4 separate regions of the Homo sapiens genome follow, and all the other regions are linked to region 2. Evidence: promoter capture Hi-C in human tissues and cell types (Jung and others, 2019). All regions are on one chromosome and are shown on one strand. Each heading gives the region's core, a stretch centred on a gene start or on the middle of the fragment in contact. The rest is flanking DNA. Distances are from core to core; before and after follow the strand shown. Region 1 overlaps TPM1 (tropomyosin 1). Region 2 holds the start of APH1B (aph-1B gamma-secretase subunit). Region 3 overlaps USP3 (ubiquitin specific peptidase 3). Region 4 has its middle 30 kb from the start of LACTB.

Evidence for each region. The method cuts DNA at HindIII sites, captures the fragments that hold promoters and counts their contacts. A contact is called where the count stands out against the background at its distance.
Region 1: a fragment that was not itself captured here is called in contact with the fragment with the promoter of APH1B in region 2 in 1 of the 25 tissues and cell types used here (mesenchymal stem cells).
Region 3: a contact is called between a fragment that was not itself captured here and the fragment with the promoter of APH1B in region 2, in 2 of the 25 tissues and cell types used here (hippocampus and mesenchymal stem cells).
Region 4: a fragment that was not itself captured here is called in contact with the fragment with the promoter of APH1B in region 2 in 4 of the 25 tissues and cell types used here (IMR-90 fibroblasts, heart right ventricle, lymphoblastoid cells and 1 more).

The regions. Positions count from the first base shown.
Region 1 is chr15:63,062,745-63,066,513 of GRCh38, forward strand. It overlaps TPM1 (tropomyosin 1), which reads left to right. Exons shown (of 10, transcript NM_001018005.2): 9 at 1,320-1,398; 10 at 3,152-3,434. The coding sequence ends at 3,155. Among named protein-coding and RNA genes, the nearest start is that of TPM1-AS, 15 kb to the left of the region's middle. The HindIII fragment of the contact is 6,156 bases long and covers 1-3,769 here.
Region 2 is chr15:63,275,352-63,278,882 of GRCh38, forward strand. APH1B (aph-1B gamma-secretase subunit) reads left to right here and starts at 2,254. Exons shown (of 6, transcript NM_031301.4): 1 at 2,254-2,385. The coding sequence starts at 2,273. It overlaps LOC124903504 (a long non-coding RNA gene), which reads left to right. Exons shown (of 2, transcript XR_007064674.1): 1 at 1-11; 2 at 667-1,501. RefSeq lists silencers at 1,781-2,200, 2,281-2,560. The HindIII fragment of the contact is 12,664 bases long and covers 1-3,531 here.
Region 3 is chr15:63,522,270-63,526,028 of GRCh38, forward strand. The region is part of intron 1 of USP3 (ubiquitin specific peptidase 3); the gene reads left to right. Among named protein-coding and RNA genes, the nearest start is that of USP3, 20 kb to the left of the region's middle. The HindIII fragment of the contact is 6,559 bases long and covers 1-3,759 here.
Region 4 is chr15:63,089,855-63,093,906 of GRCh38, forward strand. No RefSeq gene overlaps it. Among named protein-coding and RNA genes, the nearest start is that of LACTB, 30 kb to the right of the region's middle. RefSeq lists an enhancer at 492-4,052. The HindIII fragment of the contact is 4,531 bases long and covers 1-3,657 here.

The DNA of each region.
Region 1 (3,769 bases), core at 1,111-3,610, 210 kb before region 2:
TTTGCACTTGCACATTCTTCCTGTGTGTCCTCTGGGGTTTTTCTCTGTGGCTCTTGAACTCATGAACCTAAGTCTTCTGCTCACGAGGTGACTAGTTAGCCACCAGCCATAGTGGCAAATGCCATCCAGCTTGACTTCATGCTCATTACAAGTGTGGCAGGTTTATTTTTCACTGTGAGTGAGGTGCTTATTGGTGAGAATGACTCTAGTATATTTTATATCTTTAGTGTTACTTCCTAATTAAATTGGGAATGATGTGGTGATTGTGGTCTTGTTTTTAGAAGAACCCATCTTCTTCCAAGTATGAATTCAAAGTAAGGATTTAGGGGTTATTTTAAGTCATATATTATCTTAACAAAATACTTTATATCCTGAAGGAGGAGGGAAAAATTATACTTAAGCATTTCTTCCCTAAGGCACTTAGGTTTTATTTTAGTAATAACCACTCTATCTCACAGATATCCTAAATGTTGAGCTTTGAAGCTTGTGAAGGATTAGCTGTGAACAAGAAAGAAAAAAGACAAATATCTACATCACAGAAGGGATTAGAGAAGGAACTAGTGTTTGGTGCAGATAATAACCAAAATAGTGGAGAAGAGAGAATGACAAATGGTTGCAAAATGATCTGCCAAAGTGCAGCAAAGTATGAAACCTGCAGCATTACAAAAACTAAGTTGCAGACTTGCCATATAAAGTGTGGCGCCCATTGCTTTTCAAGCCTCCTGGACCAGTAATAGGCAGCTTGAGTGGGAAGACCACAGGAGTAGCTTAAATGGCACTAAGAAATCGCTATCCCAGTGGTCTAGTGTGGTCAGGAAGTCAGTGGTTTGAAGGTGGAACCAGATAAGGACTACAGGCTGTAGTCACAAATTGTTCTTCCAAAACACTGCCCTTGCATTTTTTTCCCATTGTTTATAGCTGCAGATGCCTGACTACTCCAGTGTAATTAAAATATAGCTCTGCAAAAGAAAGATGTTCCATTAGCCCCTGCCTCCCCTCACCAGGAGACAGCCTTCTGTGGTTTCGTTTACAATTTAACATGGTTTACTGATATACCTACCATATTTGTTAGGATTTTCATATTGAGTCTTTTTCATTTTATTTTCTAATGGGTTTTGTTCTCTTTGTTTTTGTTTCAATTTACTTAAAACAAAACGCACGCCTCCTGCATTGGCCACCTGCTGCGGCACCAACCCCTTCATGCATTGCCCTTTTCTTGCTGCTGTGTTGGGATGGTGCGCGCACCACCCTCACTCACCCTCCATTTCTTGATCACTCTCCATGTTCTTGCACCTCTGCCTTCCACTTCCTGGTCATAGACGAGCTGTACGCTCAGAAACTGAAGTACAAAGCCATCAGCGAGGAGCTGGACCACGCTCTCAACGATATGACTTCCATGTAAACGTTCATCCACTCTGCCTGCTTACACCCTGCCCTCATGCTAATGTAATAAACTCACCACCATGCCTTCCTTGCTCCCTAATCTCCATCTTTGCACTCTTGTGTTCACCCTTTTTGTCATAACCTAGAATAGTCATTGTTTTTTCACTTTCTGCTAATATAAAGGCCAATTAGATTAAGTCTGTCTATACAAACCATTTTCTTTTCAGAATCCGTTTATTTTGTAAACGCTGAACTAGAGCAGTGAACTAGAATGAGTGACCTTGAGCACTGTCCTTTTGGGAAATTAAGCTAAACTCAAGTAAAACTAGAAGGCCATGCCGTTTGTTGTACAGGAACTTCTCAAAAAATATCAAAATTTGTTTCCTGAAATTCAACTAAGTACAACATAATCATTTTCGTTAAATATAATTTGAAGGAACCCTTAAAGTGTCAGGTTATTGAGAATCTGAGGATAAGGAAATTGGCATGATCCAATACAGCTTTAACAGTGGTACTACAAAAGATCATCTCTTTTACTTTTAAGAATTCTAGAGTAGGCCGGGCACAGTGGCTCACGCCTGTAATCCCAGCACTTTGGGAGGCCGAGGCGGGCGGATCACGAGGTCAGGAGATTGAGACCATCCTGGCTAACACGGTGAAACCCTGTCTCTACTAAAAATACAAAAAAAATTAGCCGGGCGTGGTGGTGGATGCCTGTAGTCCCAGCTACTCAGGAGGCTGAGGCAGGAGAATGGCATGAACCCGGGAGGTGGAGCTTGCAGTCAGCCGAGATCGCACCACCGCACTCCAGCCTGGACGACAGAGCGAGACTCTGTCTCAAGAAAAAAAAGAATGGTAGAGTAAAAAGAACCCTCTGCTGAGTAACCAAGCCTTTAATTTTGTGTTTTTATGAAAGGAATTAAAATACCCACGATAAATATTTACCACAACCTGTGTCAAATAAATGGGAAATTAAACACAGATTGTACAATGTGAGCTTGGGAGTTAATGGCCCAGATTTTACTGTTAGGCAGTAAGAGTTGGAGTAGGTAGTCTTGTTATCATGAGAAGAACCTTGAACAGATACAACTAATTTACATATTACTAACCAAACTTAAACATTAAACTTTTTCTACTACTTTAAATTCTAACCTGGAATGTTTCAGAGTTCTTCATTCTAATATCACCCTGAATTCCATTGAAGCTGGAAATGTCATTTTCCAAGCCCACCTGTCATTCATTTACCCATGCAGAAAAAATGGTAACTTGAAGAGAGTGGCATGTGCCTGCTGCCTTAGAGGTTATAGAATCCCCACAGTCAACAAAAAAGCCTCTAGAGACATGACTGTTGCCATGGAAACCAGAGAAAATGTGTCTTCTCATCCCTCATTTGTAAATGAGGGGGTGGAGCAGATCATCTGTCTCTAAGGTCTTTTTCAGTGCTAAAATGTGGTGATTCTTTGGGAAAAACTTTTTGCATCAAGTATGATTAAATATTCTGAAAGACGAGTGTAGCTTAAAATTTTTTTTGTTTTTAAATTCTGTTCATGGGTCTTCTTAAAATGGACCCTTGCCGAAAGGCGGCCTGTGACGGCCTCAGGTGGGAAGATGGATGTCCTTCCAAGGGTGTGGCTGGCAGTGGGGTTTGCATGACTGCTTCTTGTCTGTGTTTCAAGTGCTCTCATCTATTGGTTTGGTTTCCTTTCTTTTTTTTTTTTTTCTCATTGTGCCACTTTTTTTTTCCTCCCACCTTTTTATCTTCACGCAGATAAGTTTCTTTGCTTCACTTCTCCCAAGACTCCCTCGTCGAGCTGGATGTCCCACCTCTCTGAGCTCTGCATTTGTCTATTCTCCAGCTGACCCTGGTTCTCTCTCTTAGCATCCTGCCTTAGAGCCAGGCACACACTGTGCTTTCTATTGTACAGAAGCTCTTCGTTTCAGTGTCAAATAAACACTGTGTAAGCTATTTCTGTTTGCTATTCTTTTTACTTCTTATTTATTGACATTTTAGTTTCAACATTGAATAAAACTACAAAGCTGCTTCACACATATGAGGGTTAGTGTTTGGCTGCTGCTTTTTCTTTTTAAATACTGAACACTATACAGAATTATATCAGGAGTTTCTAAAGCAGTAGTTCCTTGTTGAACTTCAAAAAAATACCCAGGCCTGCATTCCCTCTCAGAGTTCTGATTTTCAAAGGTTAGAATGAGGTCTGGACATCTGGGGGGGTTTTGGGGGAATTGTGATGGCTCTGCTTTGCAGTCTGGGTCACACAGGGGACATTGCTTGTTGAGAGTTGAAAGGTCTGGCTTGATCAGTGTCTTCCTTTGCTGGAGGTTTAGCTCGGGATGTAGTGACCCCTCTGTGTTGATTATTTCGGTGGCC
Region 2 (3,531 bases), core at 1,004-3,503:
TAGCTATCTAGGTAATTCTATTCTATATACTCTCACGGCTTCAGGTATTCTGGTCTCAGCTCTGATGTTCAGTCCATTTCTCTCCTGATCCTGTATATGTAGTTGCCTACTGAACACCTCCATTTGGAGTGCTACAAGTATCTCAGTCTCAAGGCATCCAAAATGAAGGCCAGGCACGGTGGCTCATGCCTGTAATCCCAGCACTTTGGGAGGCCGAGGTGGGCAAGTCACTTGAGGCCAGGAGTTCGAGACTGGCCTGGCCAACATTGTTCACACTGTCTCTACTAAAATACGAAAATAACCCAGGCATGGTGGCGCGTGCCTATAGTCCCAGCTACTCTGGAGGCTGAGGCAGGATAATTGCTTGAACTCGGGAGGCAGAGGTTGCAGTGAGCTGAGATCACACCACTGCACTCCAGCCTGGGCGACAGAGTGAGACTATGTCTCCAAAACAGTAACAACAAAATAACAAAATGGTACTCATTATCGTGTCTACTTTGCCATATTCTCTCCTCCTCCTGTCTCCACAGCATCCACTTAAGCCCGAACCCTCTAGAAGCCCTCATCCTTGACTCTTCCCCCATCTCACTCTATGTAGCTCATTAGTCACTAAATTCTGTTTGTACAATTCCTAAACTTCTATTAAATTTGTCTGCTTCCCTCCAGAGTCCTGCTAATTCCCTGAATCAGGCCACTGCCATCTCATGCCTGCGTTGCACTGAGGACCTCCAGTCTGGAAGCTCATTTTCCATATCTTTACAAAGCAGATCTATCACTCTGAACTGTTGTCTCGACCCGAGTTTTGATAGGTATTGTGCTGGGATCTGACCATTCAAAATACAATCACTGGAATCTGAAGAAGTATTCTGTGGGAGTGAATGGAAATATATATGACTTTTAAATGGGCAAAGGTAATGTTTTTCTGTAAGAATTAAATACCTGCAGTTGTATTATTTGAAGGTGCATTTTCAGGGGCGAGCTGCAAAACATCTGTCAGGTCCCAACATTTGTCTACTGGTGTTTTTTTAAATGTGGATTGCCAAAATCTTTATTCATGATGGACATTATGTAGGAGTGGTTAATACTTACATAGCACTTACCTGTGTCAGGCACACTGATCAAAATAACCGACGAAGTATTATTCAACATAAAGAAAAATCTAACTTGGATGTGAATGATCAGAGAACTTAAGTTTTAATTTTTAAACCTTTCAGAAATTGTTAATATAGATGTTTATAACTTCCACCTTTTAAATTATTTCACTTATTGAACAGATATTAGTGAACTTCTAGGTGCTGAGGAAACAACAAAGAGCAAAGCAAAGTCCCTGTCCCCCAGGAGTTCGCGTTTTAACGGGGAAGAAAAATAAGCAAGTGAAATGGACGACTGTGAGAAGACGGAGCAGGGAGATGTTACTATTGCTTGTAGGGTGGTCACAGAATGCCTGCAAAAACAACCCTTTTGAAGAATTGGGAAAAAAATAAAAACCATTTGGCTGAAACAGCCCTGAGAAGGGCAGCTTCTTCCACCACTCTTTCATCATTTTACCATCTGTGGGTTATCCCCGGGGTCACTGCTATCCCAGCCTAGGTTTTATACAGGATGGAGTACGAAGTTCCCGCAACTATCCAAACGGTAAAATGTGCTTAAAAAAAAAAAAAAACCTATTTAAAAAGGAATCCTGCTTGTTCCTGCGCTACATTTTTGTTTAGTCTCTTTGGTTGACTTGGAATCTCTGCCTGTTCTCGGTGCATGCGGCTCGAAGGTGGGCTAGGGAGCTTCCCTTCTCTTAACCACCTCGCGGCCGGCACTGGAACCCGATCGGAGTGTATCTGTGGGGCTGCGGCGATGGCTGGGGCCCTAACGTCGCCGAGGACGCCCGCCTCGGGAGCAGGAGCTGCGGCGTGGCCCTGGCGCTTCCGGACACCCGGTAGGGCGGAGGGCCCAACGGTGGGGTCCGCGCTCACCGCCTTGAGCCCGCCCCTGCGCCCGGCGCCCTCAGCCCACGCCCCGCCCAGTCCCCCAGGCCCTAGCGTTTACCCCCACGCCCCGCCTCGCCCCGCGACCCACGTACCCCGCCTCCGAGCCCCGCCCCCGCCCCCACGTGCCCCGCCCCCGAGCCCCGCCCCCGTCCCCGTGCCTGCCCATGAGCCGCGCCCCGCCCCCCGCGTCCCGCTTAGCCCCCCACCCCGAGCCCCACCCACCGAACCCCGCCCGCGCCGGGAGCATCTCGCGTCCCCAACGGGCCCCCGGGTCGGTTTCCGCGGTGGCCATGACTGCGGCCGTGTTCTTCGGCTGCGCCTTCATTGCCTTCGGGCCTGCGCTCGCCCTTTATGTCTTCACCATCGCCACCGAGCCGTTGCGTATCATCTTCCTCATCGCCGGGTGAGGCGGTCGCGTCGGGAAACCCGGACGCCGGGGCTCCCCTCCCCCGCTGGGGTTACCCGCGACCCTCGGCGCCCCCACCGCGCGGCTCGACCTTGTTGCGTTTCAGACGGGAGGAGGGTTGAGAGGGGGAGAGCGGAGATCCGGCTCCCCAAAGGCGCCTCGCCCTCTTAGGAAGAAGCGCACACTGGGGGTCAGGGCCTTTTGCCTGGGGCTCATGGGTGGGGTTTAGTGATCCGTGAAGCTACTAAAGTTGTATAAAAAAATTATGGATAAGTTCATATATGCATCCTTCATTTTCTGGAGGGGGAGTCCCTAATTTCCCTCAGATTCTCAAAGGCATGTGTAATCCCCAAAGGGTTAAAAACCATTGGCGTTTAGGATAGTAGTGCGCGACTTCCGCCTATTAGAATCACCTGTGGCCAGGTGCTTTAAAACATGCCGATGCCCACCCCCACCCCGATCCATTGAATCAGAATGTCTAGGGGATGGGATTCGGGCTTCAGAAAAAAAAAAAAAAATTTAAGCTCCTTTTGGATGGTTCCGTTGTGCAGCCGAAGGGTGGAAACCTGTAAAAACACCGAAGCACCTGACTGTGCGTCTCCTTCTGGGAGCTTGGTAAATACCGGACTCTGGTGTCCCATCGCAGTCATCACCTGCCTCTTACTTGCACATACCACATCCCCCCTCCTCTGATGAGTCTCTCTTGGCACCAGACTAGGCCAATGATTCCCGCTTTTCTGCGTTTCTTCACCTCCCACAAACGTATTGAAAGTGCTTCGCTGCATGTCATTTTAAAAATAATAGAGATTTGGGAAGGGTCTGTAAAGCTTGCTATAATCATTAGAATCCCCAGGGGTGCTGTAAGACCTGGAGGGCTTGGATACTGATCCAGATCAGAACACAGGTTTTCAAGTTGAATTTTATACCAGTCACTTTATTAATAGAGATGTAGATATTTTTCTGGAAAAGATACTCATCTTTGCAGATATCTGATCAGTAAATCCATAATTTCTTGTAAGTTTTAAGAATATGAAAATTGCAGTAATCAGGGTTGTGTATTTTCTTGTTTTGGCTCATCAATGGGCAGAGCATTGATTAGAAAGAGTAGCAAATAACCAAGTTTCTAGCTAGATAGTCCTTGGC
Region 3 (3,759 bases), core at 87-2,586, 250 kb after region 2:
AAAAGGTTGGCTAGCATAGCTTCCCATCAGAGGGGCCACAAGTGGATTACATATGTGTTGAAATAAATGATCCCCTCAGCCTAGAGGTGGCTGTGCTCCCAGACAAATCATTTCTGGCTGTGAGAAGCCTCTTCAGTTAATGTGCATGTGTCATACAGATATTTTCTATGCGTGCCCTGACATGGGAAAGGTTGGGAAAGTAGGCTAAAGCACAGTCTCAAAATTAGCCTCTAAGGATGTTGCTAAACCAAGGATATTGCTCCTTAAAGAGAACCAGGTAATAGAGTGAAGAGGAATTGAATTATTTAGGGTAGAGGTTAAAACCTACTTGTCCATAAAGATAAGCTGATAACCATATCTTAAATCTGGTGTGATATGAAATTCTTACTCACTTCTTTGCTAAAACAAAGTTAGAAATTAAAATGTATTTCTAAGTGACTTGGCTTGTAACCCCATTTTATTGGATATTGGAATATAGAACAGTTCACATTAAAGAACTTAGCATCTTTGTTCATTTGAATTTTGACATTTTATTCATTGCTATACTGATAATGTACTGGCAGTGCACTAAATGAAGTAGATACCAAGGGTATATTATGGTTGATGAGATTAGTGAACCAGGATTTAATGTCTTTTCTGAATACTTCTGAGTTTGATGTATTCTAATAAAGTTTTGACACTTGAGTTGCTTCTGTACTTAAATGTTTTACCTGAGTGGCATTCTATTATCTAAACCTTATCTGTTAAAATGTGCTTCTAAAATGCATTTTTCCTGAAGTATTTTACATTAGATACGTAAAATTTAATGATTCTGACATTTAAGGTGGTTATAACAGTTACATCAATTTTGAAATAAGCTTATTAAAATTGAGTATTTGGTGTTTTGAATATAATTTAATTTAATTCTGGTGTAGGAGGATTTTGAGGGAATGGAACTGACATTCACTGAGTGCTTTCCGTTGATTAGGCCCTGTGCTGTGTGCACTTTATGTAGTTTATCTCATGAAATCTTTACCATAGCCATGTGAGGTAGAAGGTGGGATTTGACCCATTTCACAGAGAGGAGGCAGGCTCTGGAACGAACTTAGCGTAAGGTCATAGAATAAAATAGTAGAGCTACAACTTTAAGACAGTTGGTTCTGAAGCCCGTGCTTGATACAAGTCACATGACCTGTATCATATTTATTTTGAGTCTGCAGTGGAACAAATTCCTACAAAGGCAACTCATTCTGTTTGGTACATTTTTGTATAAAAGAGGGAAGGAATTCTTCTCGAAGGGTTCAAGGGCAGGTGATAAAGGAATTTGGCTAGTTCAGCTAAAACAATGTGGAGCAGAGTTTCCTGGTCACTGTGCCCCTTCCTTTTTAGGTCAGTTGTGGAACAATTTGCTAGGAATTTTGTGAGAAAATTGTGAGTAGTTCCAGCTTACAAAGGCCTGGGATCAGGCATTGCTGGGCATGATGGGGATCAAGTCATGCTGGCTGAGGAATATGTCAGAACTCTTGGGGTAAAGAGAAATAGAAGCAGAATGAGTAATGTTCTCAAGTCTTGTAATTATTTAGAAGCATTTTTCCAAGTTCAACCTTCAGTAAAGCCTGGGGTTTCCTAGAATGCTTATTAAGTAACATAATCCAAAGAAGCAAAAGGAAGGAAGGATAAGGATTTGTGCCTTTTAATGAAGACAAAAGGAATTTCTGCCACTGTTTATGGCACTTTCTTAAGAATCTTTACCTAGAATTTGGGATTTCTATGGAAATAGTGCTTTTGAAAATTTGAAGGTTTTAAACTTACTTGTTACTGAGTTATTGTTAGGAATGATGTTTGTGCTCAAGAATTAGGTTGTCCTGAGATAGAGGTGGCACATCTAGATTTGAGTTATTAAAATATTGATGTGATACACAAAGATTTAGTCCAAAGGACAGTGGCAGCTTAGTTGAAGATAAATATCAAGTCTTTACTCTCACTACTTCTGTTGTAGAGGGAGTAGTATAGTCATTGGATAGCTTTGAATCCTACTGGGTAAAACCTTCTGAAGTTTCTTTTGCATCCTCACTTTTCCTAAACAACAGGTCAGTCATTCCAGTGAGTTGTTTGGTGGGTGTGGATGATGCTGCATCACTGATACTGCTCCCTCTGTTAAGTGGTGGTCTGGTTATCTGTTGCTGCATGACAAACAGCCATACATCCTAGAAGCCTAAAGCAACCATTTCATTTTGCTTATAATTTTGTGGGCCAAGAATTCAGGAAGAACTTGCCTGGGATTGCATCAGGTGGAGAACGTGGACTCACAGAGTTACCAGACGTGTGTTAAGAAGACACTTTGGAGGAGGATGTTCTGGAGTCTTCTTAACTCACCTGTCTGGTACCTCTGTGCTCCTTGGTGTCTCTCTGTCCCCCAGTGGTGTCATAATCTCCCCAGTCTCCCTGCACATGGTTTGGGCTTCTCTCAGCATGTTGGTCTCTGGGTAATTAGACTTCTTACATGGCGGCTGGCTCTCCCAAGAGCAAGCATTTCAAGCAATAGCAAGAGGGAGCTGTGGATTTCATAAGGCCTGGAGTTGCAGGTTGACATAGAATCACTTCTGCCATATTCAGTGCGTTGGGGCAGTCACAGAGCCTGCCCAGATTCGGAGAATGAGGACATAGACCCTGTCTCTCCATGGGAAGAATGTCAAAGAATTTGTGGCCATCTTTAATCTACCACAAGGCCATTAAGCAAAAAGGAGAGGGTTGTTACAAGAAATGCTGAACTGACTTTACCAGCAAATGTAAGCCTACTTTATATAATGATTCAGAAGAGACTGATTGTCAGGAATAAGAAAGGGATAGAGGCAAAAGAGAGCCCCCAGAAGGAGGAAAGTGGAAAAATTTTTCATGGGAAAGTGGAAAGGCAACCAAGATAAACTTTGCTTCATAATTTTATCTTTCCTGCCTTGGACCTGAATTCAGTCTTGGTTCTGTGATCTTGCCCTTGAGTCCCAGGTGGCCACTTCTGACCACTTTGGATTTGGTGCTCATGCCTGGTCTCCTCCCCAGTATCAGGACCTCTGGTTGGCTTCCCAAGCTCTATATTGGTCACCCCTTTGACCCTAAGTATCTCCTGTTGCCCTTTATGAGAACTCTCCTGTTGCCCTGTTCCCTGGGAACCTAACCATCCTCTTTCAGAATGAGCAGCATTGTTGGGGCTGGGGAGACATCAGACACTGATTTTGGCTGCCCTCGGACTGCCTGGGCACCTTGGCAGTTGCTTCATGTAGCTTGATTCCTTCTTTTCTGGATTACATTATGGCTCAGTTCTTGCTCTCTTTTTGTGACTTTACCAACTCCTCCCCCTAATAATTTCAAGGGACTCAAGTTATAGATAGAAGAGACTTCTGAAATTTCAGCATAGAATAGGCTTGTGAACATGCAGTTCAGAGAGGATTTATAGTGTACAGAAGATTTTATGTCTTGCTTTTAAGCATCTAAAAATGTTTCATTTGGAAGGTAAGTTAGGTCCGTCTGGAATATATTTTTACTTATATGTACTGGAATGTTTATAGAATTTTTATGATGATACTGCCCTATCCTCCAGTTTTAAGAGGAATAACAGTTTTACTATTGATACTTTCACGATGTATGTGTGTGTTTTAATAACTGCTGCAAAATTTCAAAATTTTCATTGATTATAATTTTACAAATCCATAGAGCTATAATCTTGGATTTTGATTTAACTTTCCACTCATGCTTGAAAATTTAGAATAAGTTCATTTTATTAGG
Region 4 (4,052 bases), core at 142-2,641, 190 kb before region 2:
AGCAAACACCAGCAGAGCCATCTGGTCTGCAGGGCCCCGGGGACAGGGCCTCTGGCCAATGAGCTTTTTTCAAAGGCCTGTGAAAATACGTGACATGCCAAAAAAAAAAAATTATTGAATCTAAAATATAAAAGGAAAAGTATGAAATTGAAAGGAATACATTTTAATTAAATGTCTATAAAACAAACAACGTCAATTCATTCATGTTTAAATTTAGTGTTTCTGGATTCTCTGTTTGAAAATAACGCTAAGGTTTTATTTTCTCCCTCCATAAAATGTACTGTGCATGCACAATGCCAGCCTGGAGAACATAGCCAGACATGTAGTCAATGAGCAGCTATAATTTCAAAAGCAAGATTAATAAAGTCCTTTTGATCCTTTCTACAGCAAAAATGTGATACTCAATGTGAAATATGGGTATATTCTAATGTGTTTGATATTATGTGGAATGCGGACTCCATAATTAAAAGACCCTGGGGCCTGTAATGGTCTTAAACTGGCCCTGGAATTGGGGTCCAGGCTAAATTGAACCAAATCTCTGAGAGGTGAAATGAGAGCCCAGCTGAAGTCTGGGTAATAACAGGATTAGATGGAACCTCAGAACCTTCCAATTCAGAGTCCATCTGAGCACAGGTGCTTTTAACCCTGAAGGGCTGTTCAGACAGATGAGCTTTTAGAGGGTGGACGTGAAGTTCTCTGGGAGGAAGAAGCACCTTTCAAGCGTGATGAACTGTTATGGTAGGTCTCCACTAGAGCTAATATAACTCAGGAAACAGAAAGTGAGCCAGACCAAGTGGGTGGTAAATGACCGCTTGGCTGGGGGCTGGTGGCTGATGGCGGGTGGCTGGTGCAGCGTCACTCAGCAGCGGTAGGTCTCCTGACTGCAGCTGGGATGTGCTGTCACCCACTCCAGCACTAAAATTCAACACTGATTGCCAATTCGCCTTTGAAGGGCGCATTATTTTCTTTAATGATTTTACTCTTACACTTGAGAAAAGGGAGGAGGAAAAAATTGCGTTCTCCAGACACCTCTTGCCCCCTCGTTCTTTGTCTTTGATCCTGTTCCCAAGCTTACGCCATTACACGCCCTCCCTGTCATGCCCAGCTGTGTGCCCTCCCTGCCCGGCCCTCCCCAGCCAGGTTTCTTTGGCTGTGAGGCAGCAAAGGTGCCCAGCAGACACCCCTTCTGCCCTCTCTCAGGCTGCGTTCAGAGCTGGGAGCAGAGAGGCCAGACGGAGGAGGATGCCACCCAGCCTGGCCGCACAGGGCCCAAGGTGACTGGGAGGACCCCGGCTTCCCTCTCACCCCACCCCAGGGGCTCCGGGCAAATGACCTCAGCCTGAAGCAGCCAGTGAGGAGGCGTTTGTAGGGCCACTGGGGTTTGCCAGCTCCTCACTGGCAGATGACCTGGGGGAAGCAGTTTAATAGGTGTGTGTGCCCTTCTATCATGCGTGTCAGTGACCAGAAAGGCAGAGACCAAAGAGCAAAGGTGAGTAGTGACCCTCTACCAGCGAGCAGGCATGGCCCTCCTTCCCTGAGACCCGTCCCCAGCCTTCCTACTCCCTCCATGACAGAGCACACACATGGCCACTGTGGTTTTCATAATAATGAACTCATAAAGAACTAAAATTCACCTAGCACTTTCCGGCTCCCAGAGAGCATTTCCATTTTATTTGATAGTGACAGTGATGCTGGGAACAAAGCAGGACAGACATCAGCACTGTCCCCATGTAATCAGTGACAACACGGTTCCAGGGTGCACTGGCTTGGCCAGTGTTCCGTGGCTAAGATGTGGACAAGCCCAGTGACATTCAAACCTGGGTCTTCTGACTCCAAGACCCATAGTGAGCGGGCTTCAACCCTAAGAACCAACAGGGAAGCACCAGCTCTCACTGAGGAGCCAACCAGGCAATGAGTGTGGATTTGGAGTTGGGATGCACACATGGTGAGTAGCCGTGACCCTAGAATCAGAATATCTGTCTCAAGAAGCTTTTGGGGCTCTTAAAATGCTGACATCATGTAAAGTCATTGACCTTCGGGGGGAAAGATCATTTTATTTATGGCAAGATTCAATGCACTCATTCATTCATGTGTTAATTAATTCAACAAGCACATACATTGAGCACTACTCCATGTTAATAGATGCGAGCCAATTTGCCAAAAAATCAGTGCACCCAAAGACCCAATCTGCTGAATCATTAATTCACTCAATTTAATCCATTTGTCAAATGATTAGTTCACTGATTTTTCCAAATTTACTTGTTGTAGTTGTAACAGCTTGAACAGTAATGTTTTAACAGTGAAAATGTTGGCCAAACAAAAATCTGTAGAAATTCATGTTTTGCAAGTGAAACCCTACCTTCTGGGCAGAATTCCAGCCTTGAACTATATGATAAGATTGTCTTAGGTACCTCTGGTTTCTTTACATGCTTTTGAATGTAAGTGTATATTTTCAAACTTGAAACACTTGAAATATTTTTTCATCAGTTTCTCAAAAGACATTTAATCCTTAACTTGATTGAGGAAGTGTGGAGAAGTAGCTACACAGAAGAACCTGGCCCTGGAGGCAGCCCTGCCTGGTGTGTGAGCCCAGCTCTGCCCCTGTCTTAGCTTTGGCACCTTGGTCGAGTGACTTACACATATGTGATGGGAGCTCGGCCATATCACTTACAAATACTAGGGGAAAAAAACACATCATAGTAATAACAAGGTTATTTCTAGGTGGTGGATTGTAAGTAAATTTACTTGCCTTTTTAAATACTTTGTATTTATTTATTTATTTTGAGATGGAGTCTCGCTTTGTCGCCAGGCTGGAGTGCAGTGGCGCGATCTCAGCTCGCTGCAACCTCCACCTCGCGGGTTCAAGCGATTTTCCTGCCTCAGCCTCCCGAGTAGCTGGGATTACAGGCATGCGCCACCACACCTGGCTAATTTTTGTATTTTTAGTAGAGATGGGGTTTCACCATGTTGGCCAGGCTGGTCTCGAACTCCTGACCTCAGGCGATCCGCCTGCCTCGGCCTCCCAAAGTGCTGGGATTACCGGCATGAGCCACCGTGCCTGTCTAAATACTTTTTGATGTTTTAAAACATCCCTTGAATAATTTTAAGTGTTCACTATGGAAGAGGAACCACACCAGATGGCTTCATATATATTGTTTTAAACCATGTATGTTGTTTTAAACTTCATGTATGTTGTCATAAACCCACAAGATAGGTAATATTATCACTCATTTAGAAAGAAACTGAGGCTCCAAAGCATTAAGTAACTTGCACAAATCCCACAACTCTAATGAGCCTGACTTCCAATCTGTCTGACTTCAAAGCTCGTGCTAATTTGTACTTTCTCTGGCTCAACCGGTGTCCGCCTCTATTATATTAAATGGGTGTAATATTTGCATCTTAAAATATGGTGGGAGGATGGAATGAAATGATAGGTATGAAAGTCCACTGCAAACGATAAAGCCTTCAACAAAGAATATTAATAATAGGTAACGTACACATAGTGTGCGCCCAGTACTGGGCTGTTCCAAGGGCTTTGTAGATATCACATTCCCTTAATCATCTCAGTGATCCTGAGAGGCAGATGGCCATTATCCCCATTTTACAGAAAGGATATTGAAGAACAGAGAAGCTAAGTAACACGCCAGAGTCACACCACCACACATTATACCAGTTACCCAGATGGGAGCCTTTCAATTATAAATGACTCCCAAGTCACCTGTTTCCCAATATTCTCCCCAATTCCTTCCCCAGGGATACACTGTACCTTACTAGGTGGCAGGTAGTACACCTGGCTCAGCAGGAGGTCAGAGATGAAAGGTCAGGCATTAGGTTCAGGGCTCCATGGTATTGCATGGACCTTGCTTTCCGGGGACTGCCTGGGACAACCACGCACTCCAAAGACACTGCTGCCACCTGCTGTTCACATATTCTCCACCCAATGGCTTCTCCCCAGCACCTGCATGCGTGAGCCTCTCAACAGCATTACCGTCTTTCCCAGACCCATTCTGCAGCCTGGGTAAAAGAATTTAAACTTTTGCTCAATTTCAAAT